Linked DNA regions of Homo sapiens: regions 1 and 2 are each linked to region 3. The links are contacts of gene promoters, found by promoter capture Hi-C in human tissues and cell types (Jung and others, 2019). All regions are on one chromosome and are shown on one strand. Each heading gives the region's core, a stretch centred on a gene start or on the middle of the fragment in contact. The rest is flanking DNA. Distances are from core to core; before and after follow the strand shown.

Evidence for each region. Contacts are between HindIII fragments. The study calls those that stand out against the background at their distance.
Region 1: a contact is called between a fragment that was not itself captured here and the fragment with the promoter of GPR146 in region 3, in 2 of the 25 tissues and cell types used here (lymphoblastoid cells and mesenchymal stem cells).
Region 2: the fragment with the promoter of MICALL2 here is called in contact with the fragment with the promoter of GPR146 in region 3 in 2 of the 25 tissues and cell types used here (heart left ventricle and stomach).

The regions. Positions count from the first base shown.
Region 1 is chr7:1,423,639-1,426,925 of GRCh38, forward strand. No RefSeq gene overlaps it. Among named protein-coding and RNA genes, the nearest start is that of MICALL2, 34 kb to the right of the region's middle. The HindIII fragment of the contact is 5,123 bases long and covers 1-3,287 here.
Region 2 is chr7:1,457,677-1,460,736 of GRCh38, forward strand. It overlaps MICALL2 (MICAL like 2), which reads right to left and starts at 1,794. Exons shown (of 17, transcript NM_182924.4): 1 at 1,508-1,794. The coding sequence starts at 1,650. It overlaps MICALL2-DT (MICALL2 divergent transcript), which reads left to right and starts at 2,243. Exons shown (of 2, transcript XR_001745046.2): 1 at 2,243-2,591. RefSeq lists enhancers at 1-470, 471-1,193, 2,617-3,060 and a silencer at 1,567-2,286. The HindIII fragment of the contact is 47,250 bases long and covers 1-3,060 here.
Region 3 is chr7:1,042,697-1,045,823 of GRCh38, forward strand. It overlaps GPR146 (G protein-coupled receptor 146), which reads left to right and starts at 1,850. Exons shown (of 2, transcript NM_001303473.2): 1 at 1,850-1,962. The region is part of intron 2 of CHLSN (cholesin); the gene reads right to left. RefSeq lists an enhancer at 969-1,524 and silencers at 1,630-2,119, 2,300-2,349. The HindIII fragment of the contact is 12,061 bases long and covers 1-3,127 here.

The sequences.
Region 1 (3,287 bases), core at 57-2,556, 380 kb after region 3:
AGAGATGGAGGGAGAGAGAGACAGAGAGGGAGAGACAGAGACAGAGACACAGAGGGAGAGACAGAGAGAGGGACGGAGAGACAGAGACAGAGTCAGAGACAGAAGGGGAGGGAGAGACAGAGACAGAGAGGGAGGGAGAGACAGAGACAGAGGCAGAGACAGAAAGGGAGGGAAAGACAGAGAGGGAGGGAGAGAGGGAGACAGAGAGAGGGAGGGAGAGAGGGAGACAGATGGAGGGAGAGACAGAGAGGGAGGGAGAGAGGGAGACAGACAGAGGGAGGGAGAGACAGAGACAGAGAGGGAGGGAGAGACAGACTGAGCTGGGAGTGAGGGGGAAGAGGCGGCAGGAGCAGCACGTGGAGAAGCTGTCAAGCTCACCTTCCCCAGCCCCATCCCGCCCACCCTCCTGGGGACTGGTTGACTCAAGGTCAGAAGAAGGGGCTACGCCTGGGGAGGCGTGTCATTGTCACTGTTGTCCTCACTTCCATGGAAAACGGGGTCTTGCAAAGGTCCCACAACAGGGAGGTGGCCCCAGACCCAGTGCAGGCCTGGGGAGGGCCATGGCGCAGGAGGCTGGCCCAGTGGCTCTGCCCTGGTCGGGGATGGGATGGCAACTCTGCTTCCTGGGCCTCAGCATCCCCACTGACTTCAAGAGAGTGGACGGGGCTGGACAACCCCCAGGCCCCAGCGCAGACGGTGTGGGGAATTGAAGGACATCCCGTCGGCGTGACATCAATGGAAACCAATAGGGTGTTGACTTGGCTCTCAGGAAATTCAAGTCAAAGAGGCTTACACGACCCTGGATTCATTATCCTTCCCAACAAGAAATCTACACATAAGAAGGTTCTAGACTGGCTAATTCAGGGCTCAGTGACACCAACAGGAGGTCAGCAAAGACCCAGCAGCCTTCCCTGTTTCTGCCCAGCTCGTCTCTGCTTGGCGGCCTTACCATCCCTCATGGTCCCAAACTGGCTGCTGTGGCACCGTGAGTCCTGTGTACCACCACAGCACCCCAAATACCAGATGGCATCCAGCAAAGTTGGGGGCTGTGTCTGCCACATAATCATACTATGTTCTTAATGGGAGGTTTCCAGCGGACTTAGAATCCCAAGACTTTCTTCTGCTGAACCCTTGATTTTCTTTCCTCTGCTGGTACCAGCTGTAGCTTGGACCACAACAACTGCCTTTCTCACCACAGCAAAGCACTGCCTCATGGAACCCTTAATCAGTAGATTCTGACTTCAGAAAGAAGGGTTCCCTTAGCAAATCCCTAATTCCTGCCTTGAGCTTTCAGATTGGCTACCTTCAACCTAAACTCAACCCTCTCTCTTTTTTTTTGAGATGGAGTCTCACTGTGTCGCCCAGGCTGGAGTGCAGTGGCACGATCGTGACTGACTGCAGCCTCAAACTCCCAGGCTCTAGCAATCCTCCCCCCTCAGCTTCCTGAGTAGCTGAGACTACAAGTGCATGCCACCATGCCTGGCTAATTTTATTTTATTTTATTTATTTTATTTTTTTTTTTTTTTGACACAGAGTCTTGTTCTGTCACCCAGGCTGGAGTGCAGTGGCCTGATCTCGGCTCACTGCCATTTCCGCCTCCCGGGTTCAAGCGATTTTCCCAGCTCGGTCTCCAAATAGCTGGGATTACAGGTGTGTGCCAGCATGCTTCGCTAATTTTTGTATTGGTAGTTGAGACAGGGTTTCTCCATGTTGGTCGCAAACTCTCGACCTCAGGTGATCCACCTGCCTCGGCCTCCCAAAGTGCTGAGATTACAGGCGTGAGCCACCACACTTGGCCTAATTTTTAAAAATTTTTGTAGAAATGGGGTCTCACTATGTTGCCCAGACTCATCTCAAACTCCTGGGCTCAAGCGATCCTCCTACCTTGGCCTCCCAGAGTGCTGGAATGGCAGGCATGAGCTTCCGCACCTGGCCTCCTGCCCACATCTTGATCTCAGACTCTGGCCTCTAGAAGTCTAACTGTTCCTTGAAGCCCCCCATTTTCGGTACTTTGTCACTGCAGCCAGACATCACTCATGCATCCCCAATATCCATTCCCCACCTCCCCTTTTAGCGGCCACAGCAAGCCCCAGAGGGAACTACATTCCCCAGCATCCCTTGCAGCCTGCCCTGGCCATGTGACTATATTCTGGCCAATGAGGATAGAGCAGGCCACACCTGGTGGGCCCTGGATGTCAGCGAGGGGGTTATATGTCCTTGGTTTCTGCCCCCTGGACCTCACACCCACAGCCAGAGCTGGCGTCGAAGACCACCCTGGTCCCATGTCTCTCCACCTAACGCCCTCCGGGCCCCACCCCACCATCCTGCCCCTCTGACCTCTCCCAGCCTTTCCACTCGGACGGAGTCCATGCCTGGCCAGAACTTGCAACTCTCCCTGGCCTCAGGGCCCCTGCCTGGCTCAGCCGCAGCCCTCCCACCAGGCTGCCTCTCCCTCCCCTCAGCACCCTCCCCAGGGCCCCACGTCCCTGCAGAGCCCCGGCCCCCAGGACTGCCATTCTCTTTATGCCTCCACCAGGTCCTCGAGGACAGGAGCTGGTGGGTCTCTTGCTGGTGTGGGGCTGTGGTACCAGCGGGTGGCCTGGCATGGAGGAGATGCTCAATTAAAAGAACGGAACAAAGGGTCCGGATGTGGTGGCTCACACCTGTAATGCCAGCACTTAGGGAAGCTGAGGCCAGTGGATCACCTGAGGTCAGGAGTTCGAGACCAGCCTGACCAACATGGCAAAACCCCATCTCTACTAAAAATACAAAAATTAGTTGGGCATGGTGGTGCACGCCTGTAATCCCAGCTACTCCGGAGGCTGAGGCAGGAGAATCGCTTGAACTCGGGAGGCGAAGGCTGCAGTGAACCAAGATCGTGCCATTGCACTCCAGCCTGGGTGACAGAGCGAGACTCCATCTCAGGAACAAAAAGGATGGAATGAAGGACGAAAGGATGAACAAACATTTCCGGGAGAGCGCTGACAGCGGCCGAGGCTGCCCACCTGGACCTTCAATGATGTGGCCGTGGGCGGCGTCCACGGGACAGAATCTCCCCGTGACTAGCACCCACTAGTTTCATCCCATGGGGGTGTGTGTGGGCCTGGGTTGATGGGGTCCTGGGGGGACAGGGTCCTGCTGTGAAGCTGGACTTAGCCTAGAGTGTAACAGGAAACCCCAGAGGGCTTCTGCAGGGGCCACCAAAACACTGAGCTCACTTGGGGAGGGTGGGGAGACACGGAGAGTCCTGGAGTCAGGGGCTGGTGGAGGGGAACGCTCAGACCCAG
Region 2 (3,060 bases), core at 544-3,043, 410 kb after region 3:
GGAGTACAGAGAAGCTCCCCAGGACCAGAGGGCCCCAAATCTCCGGCGACACCAGTGATCCATGAAGCTGGTGGCCAGCAGCCGGTGGCAACGCCTCTCCCCACCCCAGAGGCTTTTCGGGCTGGCCCCAGCTTGGATGCCTGGGCTCAGCCACCAGCCAGCCTCATCCAGGACCCTGCAGCCCCGGGGGTGGGGTCTCGCCTGCCTTCCTCCCCATTCCGGGTCCTTCTCCCAGTCTCCAGGTCCCTGGCCCTCTCCTTCAAAGCTCAGCGTCAGGCTTTCCATGTGGAAGCACGCACCTTGTGCCCAGCATCTTCTGCCTGCAAGGGCAACAGAGGCACGTTCCTGGCGAGGGAGAGCGGCTGCTGCCCAAACGCCAAATGGAAGCCCCTGGTGGCTCCACGAATGCATGTCACAACCTCAGAGCAGGGGCCGAGGCTGTTGCTCAAGACCCCAGCTTCCTGCAGAGAGTGGGACTGGCAGGACAGTGTCCAGGGGCACAGGGGAGGAGCCCCGGATCTGCGCAACGGGCTGGGGCTGTGTGACCTGAGCAAGGACCCCTCCTCTTAGCCTCGGTTCTCTGGTCTGCACAGCTGCGGCCTGACAGAGGCCCCAGGTGCTGCCTGTGGCTCCTCCCAACCCCGAGACCTTCCCACCAAAAACACACTCAGGAGAACGCTTTGCCCAGAAGGTGCCTGGGCTGCAGGTGGCCGTTGAGGGCCCCCCTTCCTGAGCGTCTGGCCCCCAGCCCCGACACACAGATCTCTGTCCCAGCAAGCCTGGTCCCAGTCATTTAGCCAAAGAGCGTTTGCTGAGTGAATAAACAATGGAGCAGGTCCAGGCTCGGGCCAAGATTCAGCAACGGGCAGGGCCAGCTGCCCAGCTACACACGCCAAGACCCTCCTGGGGAGAGACAGCCTAGTCCTCAACCCCTGCCACCTCCTGCTGCTCCCAGAGATGGGGGCTGTTCTCCATCTCGGGCCCTATCACCCGGGGCCTCAGAGGCCCGGCTGGCAGCAGCACCTGGGGTCTGGGGGCTTCCTGCCCTGCACTGGCCGCTCCCCCACAGTGGCCCTGGCCACATCCCCCCAGGGGCCTGAACAGGCTGGGGGAGGGTCAGTGCCCATACGAGGGCTATCCAGGGACCCCATCTGGTGGCCAGGCCCCTGGGCAGTGAGAGCCTCGGAGGGCCCAAAGAGGCAGCTCTGCTGGCCTTTCCCAGGGACACAGAGGGGGACTGGACTGAAGCCAGGGCCCAGGAGCCGCCCTGAGTCACGTCTGACTCAGCCGGCGGGCGGGGGATGCCATGGCTCTGGCCCAGCTGCATTCGGTGTCCGGGCACACTGAGGCCACTGAGGACAGCCTCGGGGGGCTGCACGGTGGGCTGTGCCTGCCCAGTCCCACGCCTCGGCTCCCCATCCCCCAGCCGCCCGGGCCTCAGTTTCCCCGCCCGTGTCAGCGCGCAGCCGAACAGCAGAAGAATCAAAGGGCGCCAGGCAGGACTTACATGAGGTCGGGCCGGTGGCGGTGCAGGATGGCGCAGAAAGCCAGGCCGTCGCGGAACGACGTGGTCATGTTGCAGATATTCACGTCGCGGTAGCCCTCGCACTGCTGCCGGCACCACTGTTGCAGCGCCCTGATGGCCGCCATGTGGGCGGCGCGCCCGCCGCGCGGCGGAACCGCCCTCCGACACCTTCCCGCGGCTGTGCCGCGACCGCCCGGCCGGCGGGACAGACGCTGGGACCGCTACGGAACCGCCAGACCCACGGCGCCCAGCCCCAGCTGAGCCGGACTGAGGGCGACGAGTGCCGGGTCCCTAAGAGAAGCCGAGCCCGGCCCCGCCCCCGCCGGCCCCGCCTCCTTGTAGGCCCCGCCCCCAGCCGCCAAGTCCTGCCTCCGGATAGGCCCCGTCCTCACACCTCCCAGCCCCGGCATAGGCTCCCGCCCAGGCAGGCCCCACCTCCCGACAGGCCCCGCCCCCAGCCGCCGGGTCCTGCCTCCTGATAGGCCCCGTTCCCACGCCTCCTGGCCCCGGCACAGGCTCCCGCTCCAGGCAGGCCCCGACTCCGGACAGGCCCCGCCCCCAGCCTCCAGGTTTTGCCTCCCGAGAGGCCCCGCCCCACGCCGCCCGGCCCCAGTACGGGCTCGCGCCCTAGGCACGTCCCGCCTCCTGGTAAGTCCCGCCCCCACGCTGTCAGGTCCCGCCCGACAGGCCCCGCCCCACGCCGCCTGGCCCCTCCCCAGGCCCCGCCCCGCCGCTGAGGGCCGAGACCCCCAACCGGTGAAGGGGCGCGGTCTGCTTGGGGGTCCTGCCATTCTGGACCCCTGCGGAGACCTGGAATTTTCTTTTTCGCCGCCCCACCTCCCACCACCATCTCACCCCACCGCCATGGAGAAGAGGCAGGAAAGGCCGTTGACAAACGGGGACACTGAGGCTCGAACACCCTGCCCTGTCTAGGGCCTCAGCCCTCGGCAGCCCGGCCTCCCGGGGAGCAGGAGGCGCCTTGTGTTTCAGGGTTTCAAAGGACGTCCGCATCTGGTTTCTCTTTCCAGGCCGCTACATGCCAGCGGGGGTTCCAGGCAAGGCAGAGGTGAGGCCTGGGCATTGCCAGAGGAGAAACTGAGGCCAGGAAGGGGGCCGTGGAGCCGGAGTTGCACAGCTGGCCTGTGCTTTTCTTCTGGGGGCCTGTGGGCAGGATCTGTTCCTGGGGCAGGAGATTCCTCAGGCTGACTTGCAGGGTAGTTCCAATTTTCCACTTTGAGCTGTGACAGAAGAAATAAGGAAAGTCCCTCTGCTGGGGCCCTAAATTATCCCAGACTGGCCCCTGGCCCCGTTATCCTTGGGGAACCTTGTCTGTGGCCACGGGGGCTGGACGAGGGCGGAATCACTGACACCAGCCATGTGAGGGGGGCCTACCCTCCTGGCTGTGGGGCCAGGGCTTGTCTGGGCAGGGCCTGCAGGAAGGAAGGTGTTTTCCCGCAGTAGCCCCTGGCAGGGAGTCAGGGCAGCTTCTCTGTGCCCCTTGGGAGGAGGAGAAACTGAGGTCTTCCAACCCCAGC
Region 3 (3,127 bases), core at 600-3,099:
CACAGAGCACCCCTGTGGGTAGGACCCACAGAGCCTGGCATTACAGGGACCAGACAGCACGGTGCATACTCTGACCAGGGATTCTGAGGTCTTGGGCCATTTATACCATGGAGATAACGAAGCTTACTCTTAGGCGGGCTGCTAGGAGGGCCCAAAGTCCCAAACCCTGATCTAAAAAGCCAGAATACCCCTGGGTTCAAATCCTGGCTCCACGGCCTGCAGTGTGACCTGGGCTAAGTTGCTTAAGTTTTCACAATTAAATTTAAAATGCATGGCCGGGCACAGTGGCTCACACCTGTAATCCCAGCACTTTGGGAAGCCCAGGCAGGCGGATCACTTGAGGTCAGGAGTTCGAGACCAGCCGGACCAACATGGTGAAACCCCATCTCTACTACAAAAAAAAAAAAAAAAATTAGCTGGGCATGGTGGCACGCACCTGTAATCCCAGCTACTCAGGAGGCTGAGGCTGCAGTAAGCCAAGATCGTGTCATTGCACTCCAGCCTGGGCAACATGACAGAAACTCTGTCTTTAAAAAAAAAAAATATTAAAATGCACATGGTGACCTATCTCATTGACGCTAAGGCGTACTCTCACTTTATCATCTCTAATGTGAGGCTGCGCCTTAAAATCAGCAGTATGTCGGAATGCAGTGGGCAGAGGGCCTTCTTTTTAGTAATCCATAAAGTAATGGCATAGCTAACACTAATCAATCGTGTCTTAGGTTTGATGAAATACGGACGTATCTACCTCAAAACAATGGTTGAGGCTCAGAACAGAACCTGACACAGAATACGCCCTCAGGTATCGGTGTTGGCTGCTTGTGACTGACTTTGGCAAGTAAGATCAGTACCCGGCACCTCTGGGCACACAGGGCCCGGGCTGCATCCACTGTGCCAGGGACCTGGTGCCGGGCTGGGCAGCAAGTCAGTATCACATCAGCAGGCGTGGGCCGTGGTGAGCCTCTCCCTGCCCTCCCGCTGGAATAGAAAGCTGATCCCGACGTCCCACTCCGACCCACGGTCAGGAAGCCGTCCTGTCCAGGAAGGTGGCTGAGGTACATCCCTGAACACAGTAGGCCACAGCATCATGCAGCGGAGGGCCAGTGGCCGCTATTCTTCCTGCTGGTGTTCCACTCGGCCCGCAGCTCACAGCAAGTCTATGCGGAACTGTGCAACCCACATGCTTTGATTTTCAGAAATGTTCTTAGATCCTGAACCAGAATGTGCTGCAGGGGGGACTGTTTCACCTCAAAAATTACAGCAAAGTAAATGTCCTTGTTTCAACTTTTCCAATGTTTAACTTGTAACAATAGCTACAAAAGTAATCAGGCAGCAATGTGTTTCTTTAAACGGCTTTCCTGTGAGTGTTCCGTTTACAAAGAAAATCCTAAAACCAGGAAGTAATTGGTGACTTTGGAAACAGCAAGCAAACTTCGGTGAAGAAAGAGGGGCAGGTGTACCTGGAAGGACTAACTTGCAGCCACTCATTTCCTTTGGAGGGCGGTGGGGCCTGCACCCTGCAGATTAGGGTATATTCTGACTCAGCAAAATAGGCACCAGCGCCTGTAAAAAGAAACCGCGCTGGGCACTAAGAGAATTCTCAAAAACTCCCAGAGCCCTGGGTGTGTGTCCTCCCACAGGGAATCTCGCACGAGTTCGTCAAATGGCTGGTCTCAGGTTACACAACCAGCACTGCCTCCACCGCCACCGCCCCCCAACCTCACTGGTCCGAGCGGTTCCCCGCGGTCTAGCCGCGAGGGCGGGGCCGGGGGGCGGAGGCCAGGGCGGGACCAAGGCTGGGGGCGGGGCCAGGCATGGCTGCCGCTCGCCGGCCGGGGGCGGGGCCGACGGTCACGTGTGTACACAGGGCCCGGGCGGCGTGCGCGCCGTGAGCCCCGCCGCCTCCGCCAGCCCGAGCTGCCCGCCCGGCGGCGACTGCGCCGGCCGCCGCCCAGCAAGCCGGTGAGTGGGGCCCGGGAGCCTGGGTCGGGTCGGTGGGGCACACCCCAGTCTCCGCCTGGGGAGGGAGCCAGCCCCAAGCTGCTGTGGCTCCCACGGCGGGCGCTGCGCTTACTGGGACCCGGGTCCTCTGGCCGCTGCCCACTGCGGGGCTCCGTGCCCTTGCCAGGAGGGGACCGCTGTCCTCCGGCCGCGCTCCGAGCTGAGCCCCGGGGGCGGGCTTTCGGTCATTAACCTGGTGATGGCAGCTGAATCTGCTGCTGGCGTAGGCGGCACAGCGCCGCCACCGGCTCTCCCATGTCCGACAGGGCACCACTGATCCTGCTCTCCTGGGCCACTATGGTGACTGCTTTCGGCCCCTTCTGTGATTAGTATTTTAAAGTGAGTTTTGGATCTGTGTCTACATGGAGGTGTCGGATCTGCTGTCAGTTGTCTTGGACAGTTGGCAGGGCATGGGACGGCTCTTTCAAAGCTTCACTGGAAGGCAGTGCTCTCCAGCCGCCAAACCACCACTACCAGCAGCAGAAAACCCACTATTAAGTTAGTATTACAAACCTGGCAAGTCAGTTCTCTAAATTAGGCATAAGTCTATGAATCTTGATGTGACTGGTCACAGTGGCTTATCTCTGCATGCATGCTACGTGGTGGACCAGAGGATAATTCTGTATTCGTCGTCCACAGCCTTTGATCTCTTCCCTGCCCATGAAGATGTACTTGAGTCCTCCATTCCACTTTAAATAGCCAGCTCCTGTCCACACGGAACAGCACGACATCTTTTATCTTTTGCTACCTGCAGCACCTAGCAGAGGCCAGCATTCAATAACAGAGGGCCAAGAGGCTTGCTTTAAAGGCCTCTGCAAACTTGTATGAGTAAAATGGTTCTGACCATGTTCCCAGGCTCCTCACGCATAGTGGTGATGAGATAGTCTACCGTCCTAACTGGGGCACCGTTGAGAGTGAACGGAGGCACTGTTAATAATTAGACGAAGTGCACACTCACAGTACCCATGACCTGCTGTGCAGCTCCTTCAAGAACTACTGTAAGGCCTGGCTCCCCAACCAGAACCCCTGTTGTCTTCCTCAATGAAGAAGGCCTCTGAAGACAAGTGACTTAAGAACATAGTTTATATGTATTGAATACTGTTGTGCCTTTTCACAGAGAAGAGGT